3 separate regions of the Homo sapiens genome follow, and regions 1 and 3 are each linked to region 2. The links are contacts of gene promoters, found by promoter capture Hi-C in human tissues and cell types (Jung and others, 2019). All regions are on one chromosome and are shown on one strand. The core of a region is centred on a gene start or on the middle of the fragment in contact, and the rest is flanking DNA. Distances in the headings are between cores, read along the strand shown. Region 1 has its middle 140 kb from the start of LINC02498. Region 2 holds the start of CLNK (cytokine dependent hematopoietic cell linker). Region 3 has its middle 79 kb from the start of LINC02498.

Region 1 (3,098 bases), core at 203-2,702, 190 kb after region 2:
CCATGTTAGCATTACTTTATATATATCATATTCCACAGACCTAGCTTCTCTCAGGAGGAAGAGATTATACTGGGCACATACACTAGGGGGTGGGAGTTTTTAAGGCCTTCTTAGAATTCTGTGTACCACAGGTATTTAGTAGTATTGATTTAAAATTAGGTCAACTTGATTTGGTTCTATTGTTTTATAGAATCCTTTATTTAGAACATTGCACACAGAGAGAGACCATCTATTAAATGTACATAGAAGGCAGGAGAAAGTAATGGCTATAACCTCTAAAATGTTTACCATGTTTTGCACTGTTAACTCAAAAAGCACTTCAACACAGCATCTGTGTCTGACATCCTCACCTGTAGCTGCCACAGGCTTAATGAAGTGACACTTAAGGAGTGGGTGAACAAAAATCTTCATCCAATTTTTGAGCACCAAGCACTGAACTATATTTGTTTTCTAGGGCTTAAACAACCATTTATTGTCTCACAGTTCTGGAGACTGGGAAGTCCAAAATCATGGTGTCAGCAAAACTGGTTCCTTCTGAGGCCTCTCTTCCCAGCTTGTAGATATATGGCTGCCTTCCCTTTGTGTCCTCACATGGCCTTCTCTCTGTGTGTGTCAGTGCCTTAATCTCCTCTTCTTATAAAGACGCCAGTCATATTCAATTGGCACCAACCCTAATGACCTTTTTAATTAATCTAATTATCTCTTTAAAGAGCCTATCTGCAAATGCAGTGGTATTCTGATGCACTGAGGGGATTGGAACTTCAATATAAGGATTTTGGGAGGGACACAGTTCAGCCCATGACACCAATCAAGTGTGAGGCACCCAGAATAGGAATTATTATTCTCATATTATAATGACAAACTTCGGGCATAGATAATGACTCAAGGTCCAATCACTGATATGGGGCCATAGGAACTTTTAAACACAAGCAGCAGAGCTACCTCTTTTGATCTCTTTTAGGTGCGCCAAATTGTGTGGCAGGTTGAAATTTACCTCTCAGACATGAGAAGAAATGCTATTAAGTTGGGACACAATGAAGTCAATCTCAGAAGGCTTTATTAAATCGGTAGCTTTTTGGGGGACATAAATTATCCTTGCTTTCCCTGCTGCATGAGTGCTATTCAAAGACTTTTTGTTTTACCTCATCCTCTTGTTTTATGATGAATTTGTGCGTGAAAAGACTCATTAAGAACATCATTATTCTACATTTATCAGTAATGAACTGTCTGTGGCACCTATTAGCAGCAAAATGGTCTAAGTCCCGTTTTGTATCTGTCTACATTCTTCTTCATTATTTTCTGCTCCACTCTCATCCATTTAAAATGGATTTGGCTGGGTGCAATTTTATCCCCAATTGTTCTTTTATTTGAGAGACAAATATTAATAGAATTCATAATCCTTGAGGAGTCCACTCCAAATGTTCCAATATGAAAATGACTTTTTAATTTTTAATGCTGGTGAGGGGCAGGGACGCTCACCTCCAGAACCTACTGTGTAGCAGACTCTCTGCATTTATTATTACAGTTAATTTTTGGAACTCAGAAATGGGCATTAATGTCCCCATTTTACCAAAGACAGATGGGAGGAACAGAGGGAGAATGCCTCATTTTGGCCATTCATCCTAGTACTAAGTCCACTATATGGGTGTGGGGCTAGGGGGTTAGGGATCAAGACCATTGCCAAAGGTTATGTTGCAGAATAGGTTTTTTTCTGAATTCCACATTCATGCTGATTCCAATATACCCAGACATAGGCTCAAACCTGGAACTTATTAAAATGTGTGAGTACCTCTGCTGACTGCAAGCTCCACAACACCTTTTGCTTAGTTAGCCTAGTTCATTTCTGCTGGTGTTTTATTATGCAAATGTCTTGTTCTGGTTTAGTCTGTCACCTTTTAGGCAAGAAAAGAGATTTTAAAAAAATCTTTCTCACTTCTTTAGTTCCTTTGCAGATTTTTTTTTCTCTTTATCTCCCTCCTCGTAAAATTAAGATTCCTTGGGAGGACATAGAGGGCAGAGATCTTACCAGAGCCCCACCCAGATGCAGAAAGTTATGTAATTTTACATCTAAACCTTCCAGCATCTCCTACTGCACCCAATTGAGAGGTATGCTGTTTCACTTTCTATCATTTGCTCAGAGCCAGGAAACAAAACCTGTGATTAACAAACCAAGTCTTAAATGCGATTTTAAAATATTGACAAACAATCTTATGTATGTCTTTCATGCCTAAACTTCAGAGTGTGAGAATTTTTGTGGGCTTCTGTTGATGCAAAGGATACACTTTGAGGCCCTGAGTCCTGTGGGTCTGAACTTCAGCTTCACCCTCTGGAAATGTTCACTTCGATAAGCAAATGCATTCCGGTATTGTAGGATACAGATATTGTAGAAAACTAATTCAAAGTGACCTAACCAAGAGTCTTCTGCACACTGTACCTACATCTTTTTGTTTTAAATTTATTTTAAATATTCTGTTGCACCTAGATCTATGAACGGTAAAATTATAGTAAATATTTTTGACCAACTTTTCCCATATTGAGATACCTATAGTTATCTACCTATATGTATCTATATTTCTACAAATCATTGTTCAGTCATCTCAACATTTTCCACCAACAAAGGCCTTTGCAACACAAATCTAAAGCTTTCCAAATGGCATATGAAGGAAGCAAAGTGGTTTTCAGGCCCAGAAATGCTGACCAATGAGTCTCCTCCGTTCTGACTATGATTTTAGAGAAGGTGCAGCTTCTCAGACATGAGAAAAACCTTTCTAAAGGAAGTGATTAAAACATACGTAAAGATATACCTTTAAATAAATCAATTTCTTCCACTATTATATGTTCTGTTCACATGCCCTCTTTTTCAACTCTTGGCTAATAGCTAGGTATCAAAGGCCAGATGCCTATTTCCAAATCCTGACTCTGGTAGCTACTAAGTCTTTCCCGGCCTCTCTTTCCTCATCCATAGAATAGGATAATAGTAAGACCTACCTCGGAGTGATATTGTGAGTACAAAGTGTTAACCTCTGAGCTTAGCTTCTAGCAAGCATTTATTCAACATTAGTGCTTGTTGCTATTATTTTGCAGTATACACATCTAAA
Region 2 (3,096 bases), core at 554-3,053:
GAACTGATTTGGAGTGAGGAAAGGAAAGTAATGGAGAAAGAAGTCAACACTTACTGAATACTTGCTAAGTGTTAAGAATGCACCATATTTCACGTAATATAAATATTATATTATTGAGGCTAAATAATTGTCAATACAAGTCTTATGAGATCTTACTTTATTAAAAAGGGGGAGGAAATGAGGATCATATATGAAACAACATCCCTGGTCCAAGTGGCAGAGTCAGGATCCTCACCATTTTGATCAGGCGTCAAATCCTACAGTCTTTCTAAGACAGCACCTGACTCATGGCAAAGTGATCGAGAAACAGAATCCCCTGGTGTTCAGGCCAGAGCTGGCCAGATGGTACAGAAGATTATAAGCACTGGCTTTCAAATGGTCTTGCCTATACAGTCATCTGAGAGGGCTTGTTGGGAATAACAAAGAAATACTACCATTTAGATGGTTGGTGTCAGAGACCACCCAGGAGTGAGTTTAGGGATGAGCTCTGTGAAACTGCAAACTAACACTGTTCACCATTCCAATCAGTCAGCCAGGAAAATCAGTTTCCTTCTGAATTCTGTTACTGACATTAGTGACTGAACAACCTTGCACATATTACTTAGAGAACTCAAGTTCTTCACCTGTAAACCAGGGAAAGTAATAGCCAGCTCTCTAGGTCAGCAGGAGCTGAAGGTAAGTAAATGCCAGTTGCCATTCCTACTTCTCTAGGGCATACTGTATCTTAAGCTTCTTAGAGGATTTCTGAAGCGCTGTCATTTCTCTGGTAGGCCTTCAATTAACCAGCTCTACCATCGTCTTCTTGATATTTGAAATGATTATTCCTGGTGGTTTGGGAGGCCCCTGGAAATCCAAAGAACAACACTATTGAGGAGCTGCGCCACAGTATAGACAGAGACAGCCAGAGAAATAGCCATGTAGGTAATAGACAAGTAATACTCATAACAGAGAAGCCAAATGAGTAACACTGGTGTAAAGTAATAAAAACAGTATTGATAAAAAGTTCAGGCATATCGACACCTTTTAAAATCAAAGTATCCATATTTTGATGATAGTTATTTTCTTTTCTGTCTCATTCCAGTTTGTTTGCTTTATCCAATAAAAGCCTGGTAGAGATGACTCCCGGCACTTTTCAAGAGTAAGAATTTAACCCCAACTTTAACCTCACTTTTGAGCTCCTTACTCTTGTGAGTGGAAGGATGTCTGCGTGATTCCAAAGTCTAAGTCTCCTCTACACCAAAGCAGAAAGAAAATCGTATTACTTTAGAAAATGTTAAAAATATATTTCCACAGGGCTCCAGGAGTTAACTTATACTTTGAATGACCTACTTTGAATGGAGGCTTTCTTTCTAGAGGGCTTACTTAATGAAGGTCAGCCAGGAAAGCCAGCCATGGGGCCTGGTCTTTAGATTTCAGTTGCAAACAGTCGGGGAGTCCAAGCTCCAGGAAAAGAAGATTGAAAACATTTAGTCTTTTAATTTTCTGTGGGTAGGTATCCTGATTCTTTCTCCCAAAAGAATGAAAGGATCTTTAACAATTGAGTTAAGGGCTTTCTTCTTGCTCCTTTGATGCTATATATAAGGCCCAGACTTCCACTTTAGAAACACATTTTTACTTGCTGCTCAGGTCTTTCCTGATGATCATTTATGACAAGGAGATGACCATGAGATCCTCACTCAGAAGAACTGGCCTAATGAGTTTACCTGAACAGCGTGGAGAGCACCAAGGGATCTAGGCTGAGGTGTCCGTCTCCTGTGAGGAGGGGCGGCAGTGCAGAGACCTTGGGGCACTGGAAATTAGTAAGGCGGTGGGTTGAATTCTTCTCGATGCTAAGCAGTGCCCTTCAGCAGAAAACCTCCTGATAGGTCCGTTTTAGACTTGGTTTCCTGTGAAATGCAGCCACAGACCTGAGAGGTCTGACCTGAGGGCTGGCAGGACTTCCTCTTCTTAGGCTGGAGTGCAATACGTGAAGCTTTCAGAGGCTGAAATCTTCCAATGCAAAGGGTGTTTTTAAAGACACACGGTGTCCTTATGTGGCACTTCATAGTTACCAGAACACAATAAAAGGAACTGCTGGGCAACACTCAAGCATGGAAGGTGGGTTTTGCGAGTCTCACTTTATATGAATAGTGGACATTAACTATCATCTTTTGGCTTAATTTTGCAATGGCTTCCTGAGACCATCCCAGACACATGGACCAGGTGTTAAGGAAAGAACCTGGGAACTAAAGGAGAAATGCCTGCCTCTTATTCTTGCTGTATTAATTATTAGCTATAGGATCTTGGGCACTTTGAAGTTTATTTCTCAAGTAGTTTGAGTGATAATAATATTTGTATTTTAGAAACTTTTTTAAAAAATGAGGGATAATTGAGGATTATATTTCCTTCATTGAGGAAATGATATTTCCTCAATTGTGATGGAAGGATAATATTTATATTTTAGAAGTATTTCAATAAATAAACAAAATATTGTAAATAAAGGCATGCAGTAATGTTTGGGCACATATCAGTTGCTTAATACATTTTCTTTCGGCCTTAATCTTGGTCCATTTAAGCTGATCTTGCCGAGTGCCTGTTTCCTCTTCTGGAGACTTGACATTCTAGTTTTATATAAATTGATGTTGAATTCCATAACAAACTCCAACATTATTTACAATAAATTCAAAGGTAGAAGTTTATATTTTCTTGGGTAAATAACTCTGGTTTTGACTTAACAGACACCCCAAGGAAAACATGAAAATAAGCACTCTTTGAATGCTAATTGTGAGTCAGTTACATTGCTAAGCAACTTGCAAGCATTATCCTCCTTAATCTTACTAATAACCATGTAAGGAACATATGTAAAATCCCATTTTGTAATTGTGAAAACTGAAGACTAGGGAGACTCGAGTAGTTTAACCACTTTATTAATTAGCTTTTGCTGCATTAGGGGCTTAAAGCAGTAACCACTTTATTTAGTTCATAATTGTGTGTGTCACTTGCTCACTTCTTTTGGTCTGGACCCATATTAATTTTCTGGGGTTTTCATAACAAAGGACTGAGCCCTGAGTGGCTAACAAAACAGAAGGTCAAATTGTATTGTCTCACAGTCTGGCC
Region 3 (3,042 bases), core at 288-2,787, 130 kb after region 2:
TCCTGGCTACTCGGGAGACTGAGGTGAGAGAATCACTTGAACCCAGGAGGCAGAGGTTACAGTAAGCTGAGATTGCACCATTGCACTCCAGCCTGGGAGACAGAGCGAGACTCTGTCTCAAAAAATAAATAAATAAATAAAATAAAAATAAATAAAGTAAGAATTCATTCTATTGTTATGACAAATTGTATACACCCTAAATTGTTAACAATATTTTGTATGCATACCTATTCCAGCTACCTACCATTAATAAATAGGCTGTTCAAGGTCAAGGATCAAGTCAAAGTTATCTATGTATTTCCAAAAGTAAAATTATATTGACATCTAGCAAGGTACTCAGTATTTTTAAAAATAGAATACATCTATTACACCATGAGTTAAATTTTAAAAAATTCGGCATTCCCTAAAAACAAAAAAACAAAACAACAACAACAACAACAAAAACCCAACTGTTGACCTTGTTAGTCTAGGGAGGGTGCAGTAGAAGAAAAATTTAGATTAACAATCTCCTGCAAAATTTAAAAGATTTTGAATTCATATTATTAGTGTCAGAGCTGACCAACACTTAATTTATAAAAAATAAATACACTATGCATGACCCAATTTTATTTAAAAAGTAAAATATTATTTTTGACTGAGAAAATAAAACAATTTTCTTTGCTGGATACCCTATTTTATCAAATCTAATACAAAAACCTTTTACTGAATATACTTTGTTTTCATAAACTTCTTCACCATATTTTTCATAGTTGTTCCTGTGAAATAGTTGTTAGTAAATACAAAGTGATTTTATTAATTCTAACATTTATTTTTCTTTCCAAACAGAAGGAAAGAAAATAATTACTTGTATGAAATACTTGGCATAATGGCTCCACTCATTTATTTATTCCATTAATACTGAGTGCCGCCCAGGTGTCAGGCAATGATACAGGTACCGGGGACACAGAAGGAACAAAGTGGACTGAAATCCTTCACTCTTGGAGTTTATTTTATAGTTGTAGTCTAGACAGACCAAAATTAAAAAAAAAATCAGTACATCTTACAAGTCTGTTAAAAGGTCATAAGTATTATGTAAAAAATAAATTAGGGAAGGAAGATGGTAAGTACTGAATACTGATAATGTATGTGTGCGGGGGCACTGCAATTTTAGATAGGAGGATCACAAACGCTTTTCTGAAAGGGTGACATTTGAGCAATCACTTGGTGATGTATAGGAGGGAGACATGGGTGTCCAGAATCATGTCAGGTGGCCAGAATGGTAAAGACCTTATACTAAAATATTCCATGTATAATTTATGTTTGCAAAAACAGTCTACTAGGAATCCTACCTGTAGTACTGACACGGAAAGGCTATGAGACCTTCTCAAAGACCCTTTCTCTCTCTTGCTCTCACTTTCTTTATCTGTAATATACGGGGTTGAGCTTCATTGGTTCTCAGCCAGTGTGGTCCGAATGATTCTCAGCCAGTCTGAGGGCATATAGGAATGCTAGAGAGTATTTCTGGTTGCCCCGATGTTTGGAGGAATACATCTGACATTTAATGGGTGAGGCCCAGGAAAAGTAAACCTCTTGTAATGCATAAGACAGCCCAGTATAACAAAGGCTTGTCCTGCTGAAAATGTGAATGGGGCCTCTGTTGAGAACACTGGGCTAGGTCATCAGGAAGTTCCCATCTGGAGCTAATGGTGAACGTTGCCGAGCCTACGCGAACAGGGAACGCTCACTCCCCATTCCCGTGTTTCCAGGTGGCAGAACATCCACTAAAGTAACCTGCAGGCCTCTCTCCACTCTCTCCATCTTTCTTCCACTTTTCTGTTTGGTGCATTCAGGGCTTAACTCTTTCTAGTCTTCTTCCTTTGTACATCAGCTTTTTATTGCTGTGTAACAAAATATTACAAACCTAGTGGAGGAAAACAATACCCATTTATTAGCTCACAGCTCTGTAGGTCAGAAGTCTGGCATGGTGTGATTGGGTTCTCTGTTCACGGCATCCCAAGACTGACATCAAAGTGTTGGCTAGGCTGATGTCCGGTCTGGGGGCTCTGGAAAACATCTGCATCCAAGCTCATTGTTTGCATTGGCAGGATTCAGTTCCTTGTCACTGTGTACTAAGGTTTTCCAGTTGCTCAATGGATGTCCACCAGTGGCAGTCTCAGCACTTAAAGGCAGCCCACATTCCTTGAGACTAGGTCCCCTCCAGCTTTAAGGCAGCCAGAGCATGCTTCCAATCGCTGACTTCTTCATCTCTGACCTTTAGCCCAGTTTTAAAGGGCTCATGTGATTAGGCCAGGCCTACCTGGATAATCTCCCTCATAATAAGGTCAACTGGTTTTGGACCTAAATTATATTTGCAAAATTCCTTCAGAGAAACACCTAGATTAGTATTTGATTGAATAACTGAGAAAATGGATATGTTGTTCACCAGAGGCCAAGAATTTGAGGGGTGATCTTAGAACTCTGCCTACCACATATCTGAAGCAAATTTGCTGGCCTATATATTCCCTGCTTCCTTATGCAGTAAATTTTACAAGGGCGGGTTCCCTTGTAGTGGTCCTGTAGTTTTAAAACCTTTCCAGTAACTGACAAGACTAGCGTATTTCTGGGGTTGTAGAATGAGCTGTAGCTCATATGATTTTGCATTTAAGCCAAGACCTCTAACTTAGCTTTAACCAGCAATAAAGTTTACATGAAGATGTCCATTGGTCTGATTCCTCTATCCATCGTTTAATTACTTCTCAACACAATTAGGAAAAAAGGGGTGTTATTTATTAACCCTTGAAATACAGTGAGGTTTTTGTAGGTGTTACCTGCTATACCTGTCTGAGAAATACATTACTGTTGAACAAGTTCAAGAAAGATTAATAAATCATTAAAATAATGGTTTTACCAATAGATTTTTTATCTCTATTATATGTTTTAAAATCTACTTTAAAATTACACAAGTAATATAAGAATGCGTTATTGTTATAAAACATTCGGTTTAGAGTAAGCTTAAGACTTCCTTAGCATCACTCTCCCAATATTCTCCCAAGAACAAACCAT

What was found. The method cuts DNA at HindIII sites, captures the fragments that hold promoters and counts their contacts. A contact is called where the count stands out against the background at its distance.
Region 1: a contact is called between a fragment that was not itself captured here and the fragment with the promoter of CLNK in region 2, in 1 of the 25 tissues and cell types used here (mesendoderm cells).
Region 3: a fragment that was not itself captured here is called in contact with the fragment with the promoter of CLNK in region 2 in 1 of the 25 tissues and cell types used here (lymphoblastoid cells).

The regions. Positions count from the first base shown.
Region 1 is chr4:10,873,501-10,876,598 of GRCh38, forward strand. No RefSeq gene overlaps it. Among named protein-coding and RNA genes, the nearest start is that of LINC02498, 140 kb to the left of the region's middle. The HindIII fragment of the contact is 3,938 bases long and covers 1-3,098 here.
Region 2 is chr4:10,682,965-10,686,060 of GRCh38, forward strand. It overlaps CLNK (cytokine dependent hematopoietic cell linker), which reads right to left and starts at 1,804. Exons shown (of 19, transcript NM_052964.4): 1 at 1,704-1,804. The HindIII fragment of the contact is 5,072 bases long and covers 1-2,955 here.
Region 3 is chr4:10,815,148-10,818,189 of GRCh38, forward strand. No RefSeq gene overlaps it. Among named protein-coding and RNA genes, the nearest start is that of LINC02498, 79 kb to the left of the region's middle. The HindIII fragment of the contact is 3,086 bases long and covers 1-3,042 here.